Linked DNA regions of Homo sapiens: regions 1 and 2 are each linked to region 3. Evidence: promoter capture Hi-C in human tissues and cell types (Jung and others, 2019). All regions are on one chromosome and are shown on one strand. The core of a region is centred on a gene start or on the middle of the fragment in contact, and the rest is flanking DNA. Distances in the headings are between cores, read along the strand shown.

Region 1 (3,615 bases), core at 311-2,810, 580 kb before region 3:
TTCCAGCTAGGCATTGCAGGAAACAGAGTCCTGGACAATGAAATATAAGTAGAAGTCTGCTGTGGGTTTCCTGAAACTGTTTTGCTTTCTTGATTTAGTCACTGTCTTGCCCTCTCTTCCCCATCTTCCTGCAGTTGATGTGATGGGTATGATGGATGTGAAAGATGGAGCAGCAGCAGCCGGTTTGCAGCCTTGAGGGAAAGGCCAAGAGGCTTGTGGAAGTCTCGGTGATGCCATCTCCAAGATGCTGAACCACGACCAGCAATTTCCTACCCCAGATTTCTCAAGATTTGAGGAAAACAGTTATGTAATTAAGTTTCTATAGCTACGCTTTCTGTTCCTGGAAGCTGAAAGCATTCCTGATTAATGTGGTTAGTTTTCTGTTCAACTAGCAAACAGTACAGTGGTAATGACAGAGTCCTAGACTATCTGGGCTGAAAGGAACCTCAAACAGAGGTCAACCAGTGACCTGTCCTTTCATTTCACAGGGACGAAAAGGGACAGGAAAGGGGTCCTTTCTGGGGTGCTTGTCCAGGGTGCTTCAGGGAGAGAGGGGTGGAACCAGGACTGTTTTCTGCATTTCTCAGCAGCTCACGGTTGCTTTCACCACACCTCACTGATGTGTGCTATCTTCCAGGCAATAATGACAAGAGCCACCATTTACTTATTAGGCCAGGTGCAGATTAAGTACTTTGCCTATATCAATTCATTACATTCTCACCAAACTCCTCCAAGGGAGACAGTCTTGTTATCATTTGCATTTATGAGGATGAAGCCAAGCACAGAGAGATCAAGTAACTTGTCCAAGTATCCAAATCCAGACATTGTAGTGATGATGACTCCAACCTCAGGAGTCTGGAGCCTGAGCTCCCACATGGAACCACTAGGCTGTACTGCCTGGGTGGGGTTTCAGAAATGCTGGTATAAGATTCCAGGCTGGTAGGAGCTTCTTAGGGTGAGACGAGTAGGGGCAAATCAGCAGGGCCACCTCTCTGGTAAAGTCCTTGGGGCACTGCTTCCGGGAAACACAATGTCAGTGGTGCCACTGGGCTGTCCAATGTGGTGGCCCCAGGGTTTTGTCCCTGCAAGTGTCACACTGTGAGTTCCTCAGGAACTAGATGACAACATAAACAAATGAAGCCAGGTGACTATAGTGAGGGGTGTGGAATGAGGCCAATTGGGGAGCCCAAGCACCTTCTAAAGGAGCATCGGCCCCTCAGCTTCAGCCTCTGTTACTGTGGGAAAATATGGGTCCACATTTTACAGTTTTATAGGTTTTCAATGACTGCCTCAAATCTGGACCTTTTTCTCTCTCTCTGCTTTAATTTAATTTAATATATCTCTCTTGGTTGTGCATCATTTAATTTTATTCTTAGGTAATTTTTTTATTGTTATGTCATCCATATACCCTAAAATTCACCATTTTGAAGTATGTAGTTGAATGGTTCTTAGTATATTCACAAACTTGCATAGCCATCACCACTATCTCATTCTAGAACATTTTATTTATTTTTATTTATTTAGAAGTGGAGCTTTCCTATGTTGCCCAGGCTGATCTGGAACTCCTGGGCTCAAAGGATTCTCCTACCTCAGCCTCCTGAGTAGCTGGGATTACAGGCACAGGCCACTGTACCTGGCTTCAATTCTAGAATATTTTAATCATCCCCAAAAGAAACCCCACATTCACCGGGTACAGTGGCTCATGCTTGTAATCTCAGCACTTTGGGAGGCCGAGGCGGGCCTATCACAAGGTCAGGAGTTCGAGACCAGCCTGGCCAACATGGTGAAACCGTGTCTCTACTAAAAATACAAAAATTAGCTGGGCATGGTGGCACACGCCTGTTGTCCCAGCTACTAGGGAGGCTGAGGCAGGAGAATGCTGTGAATGGGAGGCAGAGCTTGCAGTGAGCTGAGATCATGCCACTGCACTCCAGCCTGGTGACAGCGAGACTCTGCCTCAAAAAAAAAAAAAAGAAAGAAAGAAAGAAAAAAAGAAAAAAAAAAGAACCCCCACATTCATTAGCAGCCATCTCCCATTCCTCTCCCCACCTCCCAGCCCCAGCAACCACTTACCTATTGTCTGTCTTTATGAATTTGCCTGTTTTGGATGTATCACATAAATGAAATTGCTCACTATGTGGCCTTTTGTGACTGGTTTCTTTGACTTAGCATAATGTTTTCAAGGTTAATCTATATTGTGGCATGCATCAGTACTATATTCCTTTTTATGGCTGTATAATGCCATTGAATGGGTATACCACATTTAAATCTGTTATCTATTACCTATCCATATTTAAATATGTTATCTATCTGTTATGAGTTATTCATAAAATGATGGACATATGTGTTGTTGCCACTTATTGGTTATTATGAACAATTTGCTATAAACGTTTATATACAAGCTTTTGTGTAGACATATGTTTTCAATTCTTTTACGTATATGTCTGGGAATGGCATATGTTGCTAGATCATATGATATGTCTATATTTAACATTGGAGGAACTGCTAAACTGTTTTCCACAGTAACAGTACCATTTTACATGTTCATAAGCAATGCATGAGGGTTTAATTTTTCCACATTCTTTCCAATACTTGTTAGTGTCCATCTTTTCTATTACAGCCATACTAGTACATGTGAAATGGATTTCATTGTTTTAACTTGCATTTCTCTAATGACTCACAATGTCGAGCATCTTTTCTGTGCTTAGTCTCCATTTGTATGTCTTTTCAGAAATGTATTTTCAAGTCCTTTGCTGCTTTCAAGATTTTTTTTTTACCTTTGTCTTCTGACAGTTTGATTATGATGTGACTAGTGTGGATGTCTGAGTTTATTCTACTTGGAGGTCATCGAGCTTCCTGGCTGGTTTTTATCAAACTTGGGAATTTTTTTGGCTAGTATTTCTCAGTGATTCTTTCCTTCCCTTTCTGTCCCTCCTTTCCTCCTAGGACACCTATTATGTGTATGTTGTCACACTTGATGGTGTCCCACAGGTCTCTGAGCTCTGTTCACATCTCTTCATTCTTTTCTCTTTCTGTTCCTCAGACCGTATTATCTCAATAGACCCATCTTCAAGTTCATTGAGTCTTTCCACTGCCTGCTCAAATATATTCTTGAGCCCCTTCTAGTCAATTTTTATTTCTATTATTGTACTTTTCAACTCCAAGACTTCTAACTAGTTCTTTTTTATATTTTAAGAATAATTTCTGTATTTTTATTGCTATTCTTAATAGCAAATATCATCTTCCTACACTCTTTAGTTTTTTAAACATGGTTTTCTTTAATTCTTTGAACAAATTTAAAATGACTGACTTAAAGTCTTTGTCTAGTTAAGTCCTATGTACGGACGTCCTCAGGGACAGTTTCTATTGGCTGCTTTTGTTTCTTGTGTGTGGTATATACTTTCTTTTTTTATTGCATAGCTCATCAATTTTTTTGTTGAAAAATAGATTGTTTAGATAATATTTTTTGGCAACTCTTGAAATCTGGTTCTTTTCCTCCCCCAGAGTTTGTTGCTTTTTGTTTTTTGTTGTTCATGATGTTTGTTTAGTGGCTTTTCTGAACCAATTCTTTAAAGTCTATATTCCTTGTCATGTATGGAAACAAGTCTCTGCGTG
Region 2 (3,742 bases), core at 2-2,501, 560 kb before region 3:
TTTTTTTGTTGTTGTTGTTTTTTGTTTTTTTGAGGCGGAGTCTCCCTCTGTCGCCCAGGCTGGAGTGCAGTGGCGCGATCTCGGCTCACTGCAAGCTCCGCCTCCCAGGTTCATGCCATTCTCCTGCCTCAGCCTCCCAAGTAGCTGGGACTACAGGTGCCCACCACGACACCAGCTAATTTTTTTGTATTTTTAGTTGAAACAGCGTTTCACCGTGTTAGCCAGGATGGCCTCAATCTCTTGACCTTGTGATCTGCCCATCTCAGCCTCCCAAAGTGCTGGGATTACAGGCGTGAGCCACCGTGCCCGGCCACTCCAGCACCTCCTCTTTCAAGTACAAATCCAGACCAAGGCACAGGGCCCCTGCTGGGTCTGACCTTTTAGCACAAAGAGCCACCGAACCATGGGAAACACTAAATAATTTGATGCAAAGTAATTTCTTTCTTAAACATAGGGCATCCCTACAGCTTTCTGTCTTATTTTTTAGCTCCATATGAAAGAGTCTGCTCTGGGGCAAGTCCACGAGGCCCTGAGTACCACTGGGAATGGAAGCTCCACTGAGGCACACATAAGCCTCTGGTGCTTCCGTCTCTGCCATGAGAGGGTGGAAGAGACACTGGGCCACTTCAAAGTTGTTAGGTGGCCAGTTGCTGGGTGGGCATTATGTGAGGGACACTTCACTTTCCCATTTCTTTGTACCAGACAGAAAAACAGTGGAAAATCAGTTATCTCCAGTTTAAAGTTGATGGGTCAACTAAGGCTCTTTGGGCTTAAGAAATCAGTTCATATAGGTTTTTGTTTGTTTGTTTGTTTGTTTGTTTGTTTTTTGAGGTAGGGTTTCACACGGTCACCCAGGCTGGAGTCCAGTGGCACGATCTCAGCCCACTGCAACCTCCACCTCCAGGGTTCAAGAGATCCTCCTGCCTCAGCCTCCTGAGTAGCTGGGACTACAGGCGTGTGCCACCACATCTGGCTAATTTTTGCATTTTTGGGAGAGATGAGGTTTCGCCATGTTGCTCAAGCTGGTGTTGAATTCCTGGCTCAAGTGATCTGCCCGCCTCGGCCTCCCAAAGTGCTAGGATTACAGATGTGAGCCACCCTGCCAGGCCCAGTCCATATAGTTTTAAGCTCATTTGGATTTAATATAAAAGTTTAAGCTTTTGGCCTACTGTTTAATATTGAATTGTTCCTTTCATGGAATCATGAATGATTTTTCACAAGTTTCTCTTCTTTTTATAAAAAGTGACTCTGGTGGCCAGGTGCAGTGGCTAACACCTGTAATCCCAGCACTTTGGGAGGCAAGCCGGGCAGATCACGAGGTCAGGAGATGGAGACCATCCTGGCCAACATGGTGAAAACCCATCTCTACTAAAGATACAAGTTAGCTGGGCGTGGTGGCACGTGCCTGTAATCCCAGCTGCTCAGGAGGCTGAGGCAGGAGAATCACTTGAACCCAGGAGGCAGAGGTTGCAGTGAGCCTAGATTGCGCTGCTGCACTCCAGCCTGGTGACAGAGTGAGACTCTGTCTCAAAAAAAAAAAAATGACTCTGGCTCTGGCTCTATATCTAAGGGGTCAACTGCACCATTGTCACCACAATGCCATTTTCTGGAAGGAAAAGCTCTATCTGACTTCACAGTCCTTAGGAGCCTTGTTATGGAACCTGGTGGACAAACCATTTTAACTGGACATGATGTTGCTTTTTAATCAATGACTCCTGAAATTTTAGGTGAGTATGAGTCTGGAGTTTTAGATTACAAACAACAGGAAGCCAATTCAACCCAGCTTTTTAAAAGAAGATTTCTAATTAAATGTGTTGATTCTGTTAGCAGAGAACTCTGGGGGCAGTGTGGGTTGCAGGCATGGGTAGATCCAGGTGTCAAATGACATTCTCAGGACCCATGCTCTCTCCATCATTGGCTCTGATTGCTCAGGTTTGGGCTCCATTCTTGGGCCACTCTCTTGCTCTGCAGCAAGATGGTCAATGGCAGCTCTAGGCTCTCACCCTCATCTTCACATCTCTAAGTCCAGAACAAAGAGCTTTCCACACCTGCTACAGATCTGGGAGAAGATGATCCTATCTTTCTTGAACCTGAGGCTAGTCCTTACTCCTCCCTAAGTTCTAACATATTTACTTAAAACAAGGCACTAATGAAATGACTATATAAGTGCCCCACTGCCTCAGTAGGCAAAAAATGTGTTTTTATATATAGCTTATTCTAACAGTATTCAAACTGTGGCTTGATCTTACTGAGCTCCAGTGGCCATAGAGAATATGATTCTTTCAGATGTTTTCACAACAACTTTTACAGCAACTATCTTTACACCTGCCTTCCCTTTCTCCTCATCAGATCAATTAGTCTGGTTTCTTCTATTTCCTGCTTACTTTCCGTTCCCCCATTACTGAACTTCTGATTGAAGAAATATACAGGACTGGGCACTGAGGCATTGAGGATGCTTTCAAGTTAGCAGTAAAGAAATACCCACAGGGTCATCCTGCCATCCCAACAATTGTCTTCTTTCTGCTAGGATAGGCCTCATCACTCCTCAGATGATTCTCGAAGGATAACACACAGGCCAGTGGGCAGCCCTAGGCCAGGGGGATTACCAAGACATGAAGACTTTCTTTCTGTCTCAGCAACCTTCATGCTTGGTCAAGCAAAGGTGTTGCTTAAGTCAAACCCAGGGCAGGGGAGAGCAGTTGAAGCAAAGTGAGTCTTTGGAGGCCCTGTGGTTGTGGGGTCTGGTGTGGAGACAGTGAGAACGGAAAAGGTGGGAGAGGAGCAGTCAACCCGTGAATGGCCCCATTCAGACGCCTTTACCTGGAAGACGTGGCAGGTGAGCAGCAAGTGAGCGGGAGAGTGGGAGAGAGAATGAGGAAGTGAGGGAGAGAATGGATGAGTGAGCACCTGCTTGGATGAGCCGACACCCACCAGGGATCATGAGAACACCGAACAGCTGAGGCACGGTGGCGTCTCTCAGCAGCCTCCCCAGGCCTGTGCCCCTGGGTCCTGACATGAGAGCTGATGACCATTTATTATCACTGGTGATGTCAAGAGGTGGCTTGGAATGGTTGTAACCGTCTGTTCATTTTCATCTCACCTCCACATCCACCACAAATACACAGTGACGTTGCTCTGCAAAAGCAGCAGCACACAGCCCCCCAGAAGCCCCTTCCAGGTAATTGCCAAAAGTTTCTTCCATATGGAAATTCTGTAGTTGTGTGACCTCAGGCTAGTTACACAACCTCTCTGAGCTTTGCCATCGTCTTCTGTCCTATGGTAAGAATGATACTGAGGTACTAGGGAGCTGTGAAGCATATGCTGTGAGACAACACAGCTGAGCAGCCCAGCCAGAGCCCCCTGGGGAAGCCGTCAGAGGTCAGCAGCTCCCGTCTCCTTCCCTCTTGACTCCTAATAGTCTAGGACAGAACTTTGCCCTCCCTTCTTCCTGTCCCAAAGATGCACAATGATAATGATGCTGATGGTTATTTAGTAAGAAACTTCCCAACAGGAACAGTCATCAGGAGGGGGCACAGTTGGATTCTCTCCAGTGAAGATGTCAGGATGGACAGAAATGTCAGCGTAATCCAAAGAGGACACAAACACCCCTGCTATTTTCTTGTCACCAGGAAAAGGCCAGCTCTAGGTTTGATGAATGTTTAGTGAAAGAAAGTTTGCAAAAGTAGAAAAGAAACTGACATAATGGTAGCCAAACAGGCTTTCTCTGCATTAGAAGAGCTAA
Region 3 (3,603 bases), core at 438-2,937:
GAGCTAAGACCCGAGCACTGGAGCATGCCTGCCTGGGATGTCTGTGCCTCTGAGGTTTCCAAGGAAGACAACTGTCTTTGCATAAGCCCATGGCTGCCCTTGGGGGAAGGGGCCCAGGGGACACCACTAATGGTTGCTGTGATAGCATCATTGTGGAATGGAGTGGAAGCTGCCTTGGGGCCAGAGTATCTGTCCCCCAGCACTCATTTGCAGGCTGTGTGACACTGGCCATCTGGGTTTCTTCCCCTGACTCCCAAAGCCCAGGTCCAGTTCACTGCACTGTGAGGGTTCACAGGTTTATAACAGGATAAACTACAGAGAGAGGTCAGTGCTTCCTGGTATACTATGCACAGCTGCGACACTCAATAAACAGAAGTTCACTGAACTGCAAGGTCACTGCTGCTGTGACAGGAGGGTCATATGGATGTGTGTATCTTGCCAGTGGCTGTGGTGAAACCCTGCTTGTGGAGAATAGACATAAACACACCTTCTCTCTCTCCCTCTCTGTCTTCCTTTCACCTCCCCTCTCCCTCCACCCCTTCCATTTCCTATTCTCCCAGCATGTTCTTTCCACTCTTCCTCACCTCCTTCCCCTTCACCTCCTTCCTACACCATTCCTTTTTCCATCTCTTTCCTGTTTTCCTAACTTGTTACTCTCATCTTTTTCTTTCTTTTCTGTTCTTCCTGACAGCTCCCCTTCCTACCTCCTCTCCCTTCACCCTTTCTCCTACTCTTTCCCCTCCTCTCATTTCTACCTCTCTTTCCTTTTCACTTCCCCTCTCCCTCCTGTCTTTCTCCTTTTTCTTTTACCTCTGTGCCTCCCTCTCACCTCTTCCCACACCACCTCATCTCCTCCATAACTAACTCACCTCCTTTTTGTTTGTTTGTTTTTTGAGACAGGGTCTCCTTCTGTGGCCCAGGCTGGAGTGCAGTGGTGCCATCACAGCTCACTGCGGCCTCAACCTCCGAGGCTCAAGCGATCCTCCCACCTCAGCCTCCCCAGTAGCTGGGACCACAAGCAGCGCCACCAGGCCCGGCTGTTTTACTTTTTATTTTGTAGAGAAAGGGTCTCCCTATGTTGCCCAGGCTGGTCTCGAACTCCTGGGCTCAAGCGATGCTCCCGCCTTGGCCTCCGGAAGCGCTGGGATTAGAGGCGTGAGCCGCCGCGCCGGGCCTCCCCCCTTCCCCTCCGCCGCCGCCTTCTCATCGCCCTTCCTCCTTCCTCCTGACGCCCCTTACTCCCGATCACTTCTCATTCATTCACCAGCTTCCAGTCCTCGCTCCCTCACCTCTTTTCTTTCCTACTCGCCTTCTCCTCCTGCCCCTTTATCATCTCTCCTTGTCACCGTTCTTTTTTGCCAATCCTCTCGTTCCCCTTCCTTTCCTCATCTCCTCTCTTACCCACGTCATCTCCATTCTCGTGCTCCCCTTCACCTCCCGTTACCTTGCGCTTCTCTCCTCTCATCTCCATCACCACCTCTCCCCGCTTTCGCCTTTCTTTAGCCCCCGCGTCCCCTATACCCTTCGCCCATGCCCACTCCCCTCCCCACCTTCTCTTCTTCCACCCTCCACCCTCGCCTTCTGTCTCTCGCCCACCTGACTCCGCTCCGCCCCCAGCCTTAGGCTCCGCCCCGCTGGGGGTCACGGGGCCGACGGACGCTAGGCGGCCGTAGCGGCCTCGCCAGTCACGTGGTCACGTGACGCGCTCCAACATGGCGGCGCCGTGGGGCCGAGGTGTCGCTTCCTGACGGGGCGGCGCGGACGGACGCGGCCGGTGCCGGCCGGGACGCCGGGCCCGCAGCCTAGCTCGCCATCTCGCTCACGCCGCCCGCCCGCGGGGCCGTCAGCCCCCGCCGGGCCGGGGCCATGCAGGAGAGCCAGACCAAGAGCATGTTCGTGTCCCGGGCCCTGGAGAAGATCCTAGCCGACAAGGAGGTGAAGCGGCCCCAGCACTCCCAGCTGCGCAGGGCCTGCCAGGTGGCGCTCGGTGGGTGAGCCGCTCCCGCCCTGCCCCGCGCTGGCCTCAGCACGTCGGCCGTTGCCCTATCCTACTCGGCCTTGGCCCGGCCTCCTGGCCTCCGCTTCCCCCCGATCCCGAATTCCACCCTTCCGGCCTCCTCCTCATTATACCCCCGGAGGAAGTGTTGCCCGGGCAGCTCGGGACTGGCCCAAGGTCACCTAGCAAGTTGGTGACAACCAGAGCTTGTTCCTCAGGGTTCCAGCTCAGGGCTTTTGCCACGATTCCTTGTCGCCCTGTTTCCTGGTTCCTCCCCTCACCACCTCCAAGTCCTAGAAACAGTAGCCCTTGCCCCAAGTTTTTTCGTTACCTGAGCTCTGCTGATTGGGGTTCCCCTAGGTGAACAGAGCATGTAGGAAGAGCCGTCCAACTGGTTTAGGGAAACCCCTGATTCTTGTTTTGGAAGTGCCCGTTGGAGAATGTTTTCCTTTGGTTTGGGGATCTCCCATAGCTCTTTCCCTCAAGGAAGGATTGTAGAAGGTGTTCTGGATCTCCCAGGCATTGTAGTGAGCAAGACATCTGCTTATTCCTAGCAGTCCACTAAAATACAAGGTCTTCAGCGCGAAGATACTTGTCTGACTTATTCATTGCTGTATCCCTTGCGCTTGCAACAGTGCCTGGCGCACAGTAGGTGCTCGATAAATATTTGCTGATTGAATGGACCCTCAGATTATGGAAAGAGGGAGAATTCTAACTAATAGTTAAAGGCTTGATAATTGATAGCAAAATCACTATCCTATCTTTCAGTTTTAATCATTTAACAAATATTTATCAAGTGCCCACTGCATACCAGGTACTGAGAATTCAGTGGGGAACAAGACGGACATGGTCCTTACCCCTATGGAGCTTATACTCGAATAGAGGAGACAAAATAATTAATTAAGAAAATAGGTGAGGTATTTTGGAATACTGATAAATACTATTTTGAAAATAAAACAGCAAGATGTGATAAAGAGGGCTTGAGGACTGCTTTCCATGGTCAGGAAAGTAATCTTTTCCAAGAGGAAAAGTAATCAGGTGGTCAGGAAAGTAATCTTTTCCAAGAGGGTGACACTTGAGCTGAATACTGAAAGGCAAGAACTATCCACCATATGGAGTTTCAGAAGAGAGTTCTTGGTGGGAGAATCCATGCATTTGACCAGAGCTGTTTTCAAGCTAATTCACTGCCCCAACGTCTTTGGTTTGGAATCTGTAAAGGCCTGTTTTTCCTAACAAAATGAGCAAATGGAAAGTTTGATTTTTAGTCACATAGTTTGAGATTGTTATCACCTTTCTCCTTTCATTTGCTACAAAGTATAGAGTAGTGTTCTTTTGGCATTTAGAAATAGGCTGGTGAACTTTGCACTTCCCTGGAAAGAAGGTCCCTGGCTTTCATCAGATTTTCAGAGGGCCCTGAGACTCCCTCAGGGGCCAACTATTGATGCAGAGGTGGTAGTCTAGATAATCTGGAAACAGTTGCTAGTCCGTGAAATTCAGGATCAGTGGAAGGAATTTACTGAGATGTAGATTTTTAAAGCTTTTCTCTTCCAATAACCAAGGCTGTTGGGTATTTTATCAGCAATGTGGGATAAGCACTGCAAAGCAGT

Evidence for each region. The method cuts DNA at HindIII sites, captures the fragments that hold promoters and counts their contacts. A contact is called where the count stands out against the background at its distance.
Region 1: a contact is called between a fragment that was not itself captured here and the fragment with the promoter of ARFGEF2 in region 3, in 1 of the 25 tissues and cell types used here (lymphoblastoid cells).
Region 2: a contact is called between a fragment that was not itself captured here and the fragment with the promoter of ARFGEF2 in region 3, in 1 of the 25 tissues and cell types used here (lymphoblastoid cells).

The regions. Positions count from the first base shown.
Region 1 is chr20:48,344,800-48,348,414 of GRCh38, forward strand. No RefSeq gene overlaps it. Among named protein-coding and RNA genes, the nearest start is that of LINC00494, 13 kb to the right of the region's middle. The HindIII fragment of the contact is 5,036 bases long and covers 1-3,615 here.
Region 2 is chr20:48,362,362-48,366,103 of GRCh38, forward strand. It overlaps LINC00494 (long intergenic non-protein coding RNA 494), which reads left to right. Exons shown (of 5, transcript NR_026958.1): 2 at 2,528-2,836. Among named protein-coding and RNA genes, the nearest start is that of LINC00494, 4.3 kb to the left of the region's middle. The HindIII fragment of the contact is 7,199 bases long and covers 1-3,742 here.
Region 3 is chr20:48,920,024-48,923,626 of GRCh38, forward strand. ARFGEF2 (ARF guanine nucleotide exchange factor 2) reads left to right here and starts at 1,688. Exons shown (of 39, transcript NM_006420.3): 1 at 1,688-1,987. The coding sequence starts at 1,867. RefSeq lists silencers at 1,449-1,528, 1,759-1,858, 1,899-1,948 and an enhancer at 2,319-2,398. The HindIII fragment of the contact is 23,689 bases long and covers 1-3,603 here.